Regions from separate parts of the Homo sapiens genome. Here all the other regions are linked to region 2. Evidence: promoter capture Hi-C in 16 types of primary human blood cells and fetal thymus (Javierre and others, 2016). All regions are on one chromosome and are shown on one strand. Each heading gives the region's core, a stretch centred on a gene start or on the middle of the fragment in contact. The rest is flanking DNA. Distances are from core to core; before and after follow the strand shown.

Region 1 (2,821 bases), core at 138-2,637, 290 kb after region 2:
AGTAAAAAGAATGATGAACCCCTACGAAGCCATCTCCAGCTGCAAGAGCTATTATTGGCTCATAGCTAATCTTCTTTCACCTAACCTATAACTTCTATCTCCCAAACTAGATTTTTAATTAAAAAAAATTTTTTTTAGAGACAGGATCTTGCTCTGTCACCCAGGCTGGAGTGCAGTGGTGCAATCATAGCTCACTGCAGCCTTAAACTCCTGGGCTCAAGCGATCCTCCTGGCTCAGCCTCCCAAGTAGCTGGAACTACAGGCATGCACCACCACACCCAGCTAACCAAACTGGATTATTTTGAAGCAAATCCCAGACATCCATAGATGGTGGCCTCTTAACTAAGCTTCTTAAGTAGCACAGGCTCTGGATGTGAGCAGTGGCCTTGTTCCTGATCCTAACACCGTGCCTGGCTCTAAGAGGTGCCCTGTAAGCCTGTGATGAAAGAAGAGGTGAAGGTGGGGGTTGGTGGGGAGGGTAGACTATGTTATTGAAAATTGTAGATCTTTCTCCTTCAGAGTCTAGAGTTGACTCCTTTAATTAACTGAGATACTTAGAGGTCATTTCCAAAGCCAGAGTAAGTGCCACAGCTTCTCATCTTGAAACTCTGTCCCTGTTATCAAGATGCTTTCCAGGAGGCTTCAGTTCACTTGCTGGTCCTTCTCTTTTTCAGACCATTGAGCCAAAAGTGAAAGTTTTCATCTTCAACCTAAAACTCCCAGACTGCCCCTCCACCATGAAGAACCCAGCCAGTCTGCTCTTCAGCCTTTTTGAAGGTGAGTGGGCCATTGCTGAAGAGGTTTTGAGTGACATCTGGTGCACTGGTGTGCTAGGTAGCAGTCTTGAAAGTCCGGGGTTCCAATGGGAGGAGGAGCATGGGAGGAAGACTAGTATAAAAGCCCACCCCAGACTGGGTTAGTGTACTATGCCTTCCTACTGATGGTCCCTTGCAACCATCCCCCATTGACCCAAGAAAGAGGAGAGGTTCGACACAAGGATGCCTCTTATGGACATAAAGATAGTTAGGCCTCAGCTGTGAGTTGTAAGCATGGAAAATCATCTTTGCCTCCTTTTATTACCTCTCCCTCCAAGGTCTCTCATCTCTGCTCCTCTTGGCAGGGCTTTCCTCTGCCCGTCTCTCTCCAGCCAGCCCTCTCCACTTACCCTTGTTCCATGTCCCCATTATCTCAGTTTGCACATGGCCCTGGTGGGTACCTGACCAAGATGCTAAGAACTTTCAAGTGTAGGACTCACAGCTCAAGGGCCATCTTCCTAGTGTCTCTTAGTTCAAATTCTTGAAAGTGAATCTGATTGTTGGCCATGGATCAGGAGGCTGCTTCTGGTCCAATCAAGTCAGGGGAAAGGTGGGGTCTATGATAGCATTGAGGCTGGCAGTCACTGGAGACTCTGCAAGAAGGGAGGAAGGGGCAGAGAGGAATGTGCCTGAGGGCCCTGATATTCACTCTTGTCTGTCTGTCACTCTTGTCCATAGGCCAGAGTATGGGAGAAGTCAGTAGTGTTCTTTCTACCACTGTGTCTTAGTCTGTCTTGTGTTGCTATAATAGAATACTCTAGACTGCGTAATTTATAGAGAAAAAAGGTTTATTTAGCTCATGGTTCTGGGGACTGGGAAGTTCAAGATCAGGCAGCCACATCTGGTCAGCTTCTGGTGAGGGCCTCATGCTGCATCCTAACCTGGCAGAGAAGTGGAAGGGGAAGGAAGTGCCTGCAAACAGATAAAACACCAGAAGCAGCCTCACTTTATAACAACCACTGTATGGTAACTAATCCAGTCCCACTAGAATGGGAACTCACTCACTCCCTGGAGACTGCACTAATCCCTGAAGGCGGATCCCTCATGACCCAAATGCCTCTTAAAAGTCCATAACCTCTCAATAATGTTACACTGGCAATTAAATTTCAACATGAGTTTTTGTAGGGACAAACCACATCCAAACCATAGCACACCTGGACCCCATCCCAGCAATGGGTTGGCTCCACAGGGCCCCTGAAGTTTATCCATAGATACCATTTAATAATGCTTATCTGAACTCACCTTTGATGGCATAACAATTTCTGTTCTTAGATCCCACCTCTCTCTAAGTGGTTAAAATTGTACCTTTTCTGTTTATGCGTATTTTACCACAATTTTAAAAATATTCCACCCCTTTCTGATCTTTGAGTTCTTCTAAATCAATTGTTCCCAAAGTTGTGGTCCCCAGACCAGCAGCATCAACATTAGCATCACCTGGGAGCTCATTAGAAATGCATATTCTTGAGCCCTACTTGAGACCTACTGCATCAGACACTCTTGGGGTGGGACCAGCAACCTGTGTTTTAACAAGCTCTACAGATGATTTTGATTCACCTTGAAGTTTGAGAACCACTTTTAAGTAATAAGTAAGTAGAATTCACTTCTAAGCTTTTAAAGTCGTTAGCCCATGGTATTTTCCAAAGGGGCTTGGAACCACTGCTTGGAGTTTGGGTGTGTCGTATGAGCGAGGAAAACTGTTGATTTCAGACTTGCATGTTCTTAGTTGGCATTTACATAGAGTTAATTCAATTTCTTCTCTTACAGCCATAAATAAAGACCAAGTGCTCACCATTGGGTTTGATATTAATGAGTTTCTGAGTTGTTCATCAAGTTCCAAGAAAAGGTAATGTCAGGTTGCCTATTGAACTATCAATAACTGATATTTGTAGAATACTCTGTTTCTTTTACATGTATAATCTTATAGGACTGTTGTCATCAACTCTTGGGCCACCAAGTTGTTTATTGCCATTCAATTGATGAGAAACAAAGACTCAGAAAGAAAGTAG
Region 2 (3,115 bases), core at 94-2,593:
TCCCTCTCCTCGGGACCATTTCGGGGTGGGGGCCTCTGGGGTCCGTGTCGCGACGCACGCGCCTCGGTCCCAGCTATCTCCGCAGCGGCCACCCCGCCTGCGGACGCAGTTTCTCGGCCCCGCCCCACACTCGCTCCCCCGCCCCACCCAGTCTCCGCGCCGGAGGGAAGTGGCGCGAGGGGGAAAGCACTGTCTGCGCGCCCACTGCAAACCTCAGCCAGTCTGAGATCGCTTTAAACGTCTGACCCCCACCCCCACTCCGCCCCGCCCAGTTCTTCAACCTAATTTCTGATTCGTGCCAAAGCTTGTCCTCTGCTCAAAATCGTGGAAGACGCCGAGTATGGGGACCGAAGACCTGGGTTCAAGCCCGGCTTGGAATCCCTGCCCATCCCTGGCATTTCATCTCTCCGGGCTTATTTGCTGGTTTCTCCGAATGCGGGCCTTGTCTGGTTCACGCTGGATCCCCAACGCCTAGAACAGTGCGTGGCACGCAGTTCGTCCTTCTATAAATATCGGACTAAATGCATCTCTGTGATGGTAATACCCACACGGTGTTGTGAGAATGAATGAGTGATTCTGTGCAAGTTCCTAGTGATCTGTTACAAAAAGTACTGGTCGCTAAATTACTCTTATAATAAAGCATACTTTTAGGATAATAAAGCACTATTCGCGAATTGGTTACCGCTATTATGAAATTACTGAGCAATACATATCTACATCTGATCAGTCTCCAGAATTATGCCAAATCCTACCTTCTTCTGAAAGTATCTCCTAATTATCTGCACCTGACCCTAGTGATGCTGTGAATGTGCAAGTATAGCTACATCCTCCGAAGGAAGGATCTTTACTCCTTTTACCTCCTGAATGGGCTGCGTCTGCTGAAAGCGCGGGGAATGGCGTTGGAAGCTTGGCCCTACTTCCAGCATTGCCGCCTACTGGTTGGGTTACTCCAGCAAGTCACTCCCCTTCCCTGGGCCTCAGTGTCTCTACTGTAGCATTCCCAGGTCTGGAATTCCATCCACTTTAGCAAGGATGGACGCGCCACAGAGAGACGCGTTCCTAGCCCGCGCTTCCCACCTGTCTTCAGGCGCATCCCGCTTCCCTCAAACTTAGGAAATGCCTCTGGGAGGTCCTGTCCGGCTCCGGACTCACTACCGACCACCCGCAAACAGCAGGGTCCCCTGGGCTTCCCAAGCCGCGCACCTCTCCGCCCCGCCCCTGCGCCCTCCTTCCTCGCGTCTGCCCCTCTCCCCCACCCCGCCTTCTCCCTCCCCGCCCCAGCGGCGCATGCGCCGCGCTCGGAGCGTGTTTTTATAAAAGTCCGGCCGCGGCCAGAAACTTCAGTTTGTTGGCTGCGGCAGCAGGTAGCAAAGTGACGCCGAGGGCCTGAGTGCTCCAGTAGCCACCGCATCTGGAGAACCAGCGGTTACCATGGAGGGGATCAGTGTAAGTCCAGTTTCAACCTGCTTTGTCATAAATGTACAAACGTTTGAACTTAGAGCGCAGCCCCTCTCCGAGCGGGCAGAAGCGGCCAGGACATTGGAGGTACCCGTACTCCAAAAAAGGGTCACCGAAAGGAGTTTTCTTGACCATGCCTATATAGTGCGGGTGGGTGGGGGGGGAGCAGGATTGGAATCTTTTTCTCTGTGAGTCGAGGAGAAACGACTGGAAAGAGCGTTCCAGTGGCTGCATGTGTCTCCCCCTTGAGTCCCGCCGCGCGCGGCGGCTTGCACGCTGTTTGCAAACGTAAGAACATTCTGTGCACAAGTGCAGAGAAGGCGTGCGCGCTGCCTCGGGACTCAGACCACCGGTCTCTTCCTTGGGGAAGCGGGGATGTCTTGGAGCGAGTTACATTGTCTGAATTTAGAGGCGGAGGGCGGCGTGCCTGGGCTGAGTTCCCAGGAGGAGATTGCGCCCGCTTTAACTTCGGGGTTAAGCGCCTGGTGACTGTTCTTGACACTGGGTGCGTGTTTGTTAAACTCTGTGCGGCCGACGGAGCTGTGCCAGTCTCCCAGCACAGTAGGCAGAGGGCGGGAGAGGCGGGTGGACCCACCGCGCCGATCCTCTGAGGGGATCGAGTGGTGGCAGCAGCTAGGAGTTGATCCGCCCGCGCGCTTTGGGTTTGAGGGGGAAAACCTTCCCGCCGTCCGAAGCGCGCCTCTTCCCCACGGCCGCGAGTGGGTCCTGCAGTTCGAGAGTTTGGGGTCGTGCAGAGGTCAGCGGAGTGGTTTGACCTCCCCTTTGACACCGCGCAGCTGCCAGCCCTGAGATTTGCGCTCCGGGGATAGGAGCGGGTACGGGGTGAGGGGCGGGGGCGGTTAAGACCGCACCTGGGCTGCCAGGTCGCCGCCGCGAAGACTGGCAGGTGCAAGTGGGGAAACCGTTTGGCTCTCTCCGAGTCCAGTTGTGATGTTTAACCGTCGGTGGTTTCCAGAAACCTTTTGAAACCCTCTTGCTAGGGAGTTTTTGGTTTCCTGCAGCGGCGCGCAATTCAAAGACGCTCGCGGCGGAGCCGCCCAGTCGCTCCCCAGCACCCTGTGGGACAGAGCCTGGCGTGTCGCCCAGCGGAGCCCCTGCAGCGCTGCTTGCGGGCGGTTGGCGTGGGTGTAGTGGGCAGCCGCGGCGGCCCGGGGCTGGACGACCCGGCCCCCCGCGTGCCCACCGCCTGGAGGCTTCCAGCTGCCCACCTCCGGCCGGGTTAACTGGATCAGTGGCGGGGTAATGGGAAGCCACCCGGGAGAGTGAGGAAATGAAACTTGGGGCGAGGACCACGGGTGCAGACCCCGTTACCTTCTCCACCCAGGAAAATGCCCCGCTCCCTAACGTCCCAAACGCGCCAAGTGATAAACACGAGGATGGCAAGAGACCCACACACCGGAGGAGCGCCCGCTTGGGGGAGGAGGTGCCGTTTGTTCATTTTCTGACACTCCCGCCCAATATACCCCAAGCACCGAAGGGCCTTCGTTTTAAGACCGCATTCTCTTTACCCACTACAAGTTGCTTGAAGCCCAGAATGGTTTGTATTTAGGCAGGCGTGGGAAAATTAAGTTTTTGCGCTTTAGGAGAATGAGTCTTTGCAACGCCCCCGCCCTCCCCCCGTGATCCTCCCTTCTCC
Region 3 (3,020 bases), core at 484-2,983, 300 kb before region 2:
TGAAGCCTTCATGTAACAATCTTTGCCTTTTATCCTGACCAATTCACCTCATCACAGAAAGCGCCAAATCTGCTATACTGAATCCTGTTTAATGGTGGGAGGCACTCAGTAGTGTCACTTCCCAACCATGCTCTGATTTCCTTGTAGGGAATCACCTTGGCCCTCACTGTGTGCAGTCTTCGTGGGACAATAAAACCACGTGCCTGCCCTCCCAGAGTGGAAGCTGGAGGGGCTCCACGAGGCTCCTTCTGCTCTGTCCTTCCTCTCGCCAGCTTGATACAGGGCAGTCCTGTGACCTTGGCTCAGCCAATAGAATACTCGCTTCCCTGAGATGTTGAATCTTGACAGTGACACAAGGACAGACAAGAAATTAGGATCCATTGATTCCTGTGGAGCCCTGGAGAGAACAATGAGCAGAGCCCACTATAAGATGTTCTGGAACAATCTGGTGCCCACCTGCTCCAAGTTCCTCAGCCATCACTTCCATTATTTGACCCTGTAAACCTTCTTAAAAAGTTCATTAGTCCTTTTTTTGCTAAAGGTTGCCAAACTTTCTGTTACTTGCAACTAAGAAACTCGACTGGATACAATGAACATTCAGGGATCACAGTTAGGTATCAGTAAGCACCCACTATCTGTTAAAAATTAACATTCACCTGCTACCCAAAAATACAGTGGCAAAAAAAAAAAGGAGGCATCATTTTTCGCTCACACAGAAGAAATCCAAAAGTGCATTGTCCAGGGCTGGCGTGGTGCCCTATGGTGTTAGCGATGACCCAGGCTTCTTCTCACTTTCTGCTCCACCATCTTCCACTCAGATTCCATCCATGAGGTCTCCTCACCATCCCAGGACTGTCACTGGGACTTGTTATCCTAGCCATGTTCCAGGCAGGGAGAAGGGAGACGGGGAAAGGAATGGGTCTCCTGCCAGCCAGGTGAATCCCCTTGAAGGAATTTTGCTGGAAGTGACTTCCACTCACACCTCATTGACCACCCCAACCTCAAGGAAAGCTAACAAATATGTTTGTTTTTTTAAGCAGGGCATCTTGAAAAATTCAAAGAGATTTTAAATGTTCTCACCACAAAAAGATAAGTATGTGAGACAATACATATGTTAATTAGCTTGATTTAGCCATTCCATGATGGACACGTATTTCAAAACCCATTCTACATGATAAATATATGCAATTTTTATTTTTCAATTAAAAACAAATTAAAATCTTTAAAATTAGAAATTTTAAAATTAAAAACTAAATAAAAGTTGGAAGAATTGCCATACTCAAATATACAGGGATCTTATCCTAAAAAAACAAGAGAGCATGGATACTGGGTAGGCAACTGGCAATCTCTTTCACACACTGCTTTCTGGACAACTGCTAAGGAAAGGTATTCTGAGGACCATCACCCATCTTTCATCTTAGTTTCCCCTCAACCTTTCTTGGTCGATCCTGTCTAAAAAGATTCCCTAGTCAAAACTCTGGTTTTGAGGAAAATGACAGGAAATTTTCCATTTCCGTGGACCTCACTTGGAATCATCGTTCCACTAGGTCTTTATTGAATGACTTTGAAGACGACACTTAATTCTTCCAAACCTTAGTTGCCCAAAATGTAAAGTCTGTCTCAGTCAAGGACTGACCCAGGCAACAACCTGCAGTCCCTTCGAGGTTAAAGATGATGTAAAATTAGCATTTCTAATAGTCGGAATGTTCAACTACCTTGCAATGAGCAGCAAAGTAAAAGGGATATACAGGTCATGAAGTGGACAGAGCTTTCACAATTCTTCTCAGCCTTTGACCCCAGGAAGGGTTTGACTTGTGCCTTGAGTTCAGATAGAAATGTGTCTCCTTGGATTTCCTTGGAAGTTAAAGAGAAAAAGCTACTGTGACCCAAGGGGTAAACTCACCTAAGGGAGCTGGCGGGGAGGGAGTTAATTTCATCTTTATGGCCAAAATATTTCTAAGTCCCTCTTGGAAGACAATTCTCCATGTGTCTGACTGCCTTTGCTGGAGACTATCTTTCCCAGGATGTTTGTATAGAGAGCAGCCTTGGAAGACAGAAATTGTGCCTCCCTCCAGAGCAAAGAGCAAGGTTGTTTATTGCCCACGTCATAAAGATGGCATCTGCCTCTGGAGTTAAGCCCAGCCATGCTTATTCCCTGTTAGAAAAGATTTGGATTCCCTGAACTCAGGGTACCTCTGTAACACAACTCACTGCACACACAGGCATTACCTGGCCTTCTCCACATTGCCCTGATACAAATGTTGATATTCTGGTTACTGCTAATGTGGAATATAGTAAAGTTATTTGTCTCTGACCCAGGAGTCCACCAGCATCCATTAAACTGTGGCAGGTTAACTTGTCGGCTGGCAAGTGGGGTAAAATCCCAGACCAGTCACAGTCTTAATGTCCCTTTCTTCCTTGTCACCGCCCCCTGTCCCTGACCTACCTCCCAGATGTAAACACTGGCTTAGCACCCAATCAATCCTCGGAAATATATTTTTAACACTTGCAGTTAAATTATAGAAATCTCGAAGTAATTATCTGTGTATTTTAAAGAACTCCCCAGATGCTGAAATATTTCTTCCAGGCACTTAGTCCCTTGCTATGCCCAAATCCTTGGCATGACATGGTTAAAGAATACTTGCCATATCCATGGACCTTTCTCATGGGACACCCACATAAGGCACAAATAGGAGACTGTGTGTCAACCGAAGACTCCAGAAGAGATCTAAGAGTAATGGAAGATGTGTATTTATCTCCCACTTTCATCTTCCCACATTATCTGTCCAAACAGTCGATAGTTGATTTTTTTTTTCCAAGAACTGGAAAGTTAAAGGAATGGGACTGTAAATAATAGGCTAAGCTGATGGTGGGTGAAATGGTCCAGGCTGTTTGACTTTTCAATATTAAAAACCTTCGGTCACCCCAAATACACACAAAGAATGATCAGATAGAAAATAATCTTCTCTTGTTCATACCCAACAATCTGTTGTCATCTGCCAGGGCTACAGCAGAAATCA

The links. Contacts are between HindIII fragments. The CHiCAGO score rates a contact against its expected background, and 5 or more counts as called.
Region 1: a fragment that was not itself captured here is called in contact with the fragment with the promoter of CXCR4 in region 2 in 1 of 17 cell types (fetal thymus); the score reaches 7.1 in fetal thymus.
Region 3: a contact is called between a fragment that was not itself captured here and the fragment with the promoter of CXCR4 in region 2, in 1 of 17 cell types (naive B cells). The highest score is 7.2, in naive B cells.

Annotation. Positions count from the first base shown.
Region 1 is chr2:135,821,857-135,824,677 of GRCh38, reverse strand. It overlaps LCT (lactase), which reads left to right. Exons shown (of 17, transcript NM_002299.4): 4 at 675-777; 5 at 2,580-2,658. It overlaps LCT-AS1 (LCT antisense RNA 1), which reads right to left. Exons shown (of 2, transcript NR_045486.1): 2 at 1,591-2,821. Among named protein-coding and RNA genes, the nearest start is that of LCT-AS1, 3.1 kb to the right of the region's middle. The HindIII fragment of the contact is 2,076 bases long and covers 350-2,425 here.
Region 2 is chr2:136,116,377-136,119,491 of GRCh38, reverse strand. It overlaps CXCR4 (C-X-C motif chemokine receptor 4), which reads left to right and starts at 1,343. Exons shown (of 2, transcript NM_003467.3): 1 at 1,343-1,446. The coding sequence starts at 1,432. RefSeq lists an enhancer at 2,352-2,421 and a silencer at 2,552-2,721. The HindIII fragment of the contact is 7,141 bases long and covers 909-3,115 here.
Region 3 is chr2:136,417,724-136,420,743 of GRCh38, reverse strand. No RefSeq gene overlaps it. Among named protein-coding and RNA genes, the nearest start is that of CXCR4, 300 kb to the right of the region's middle. The HindIII fragment of the contact is 7,220 bases long and covers 1-3,020 here.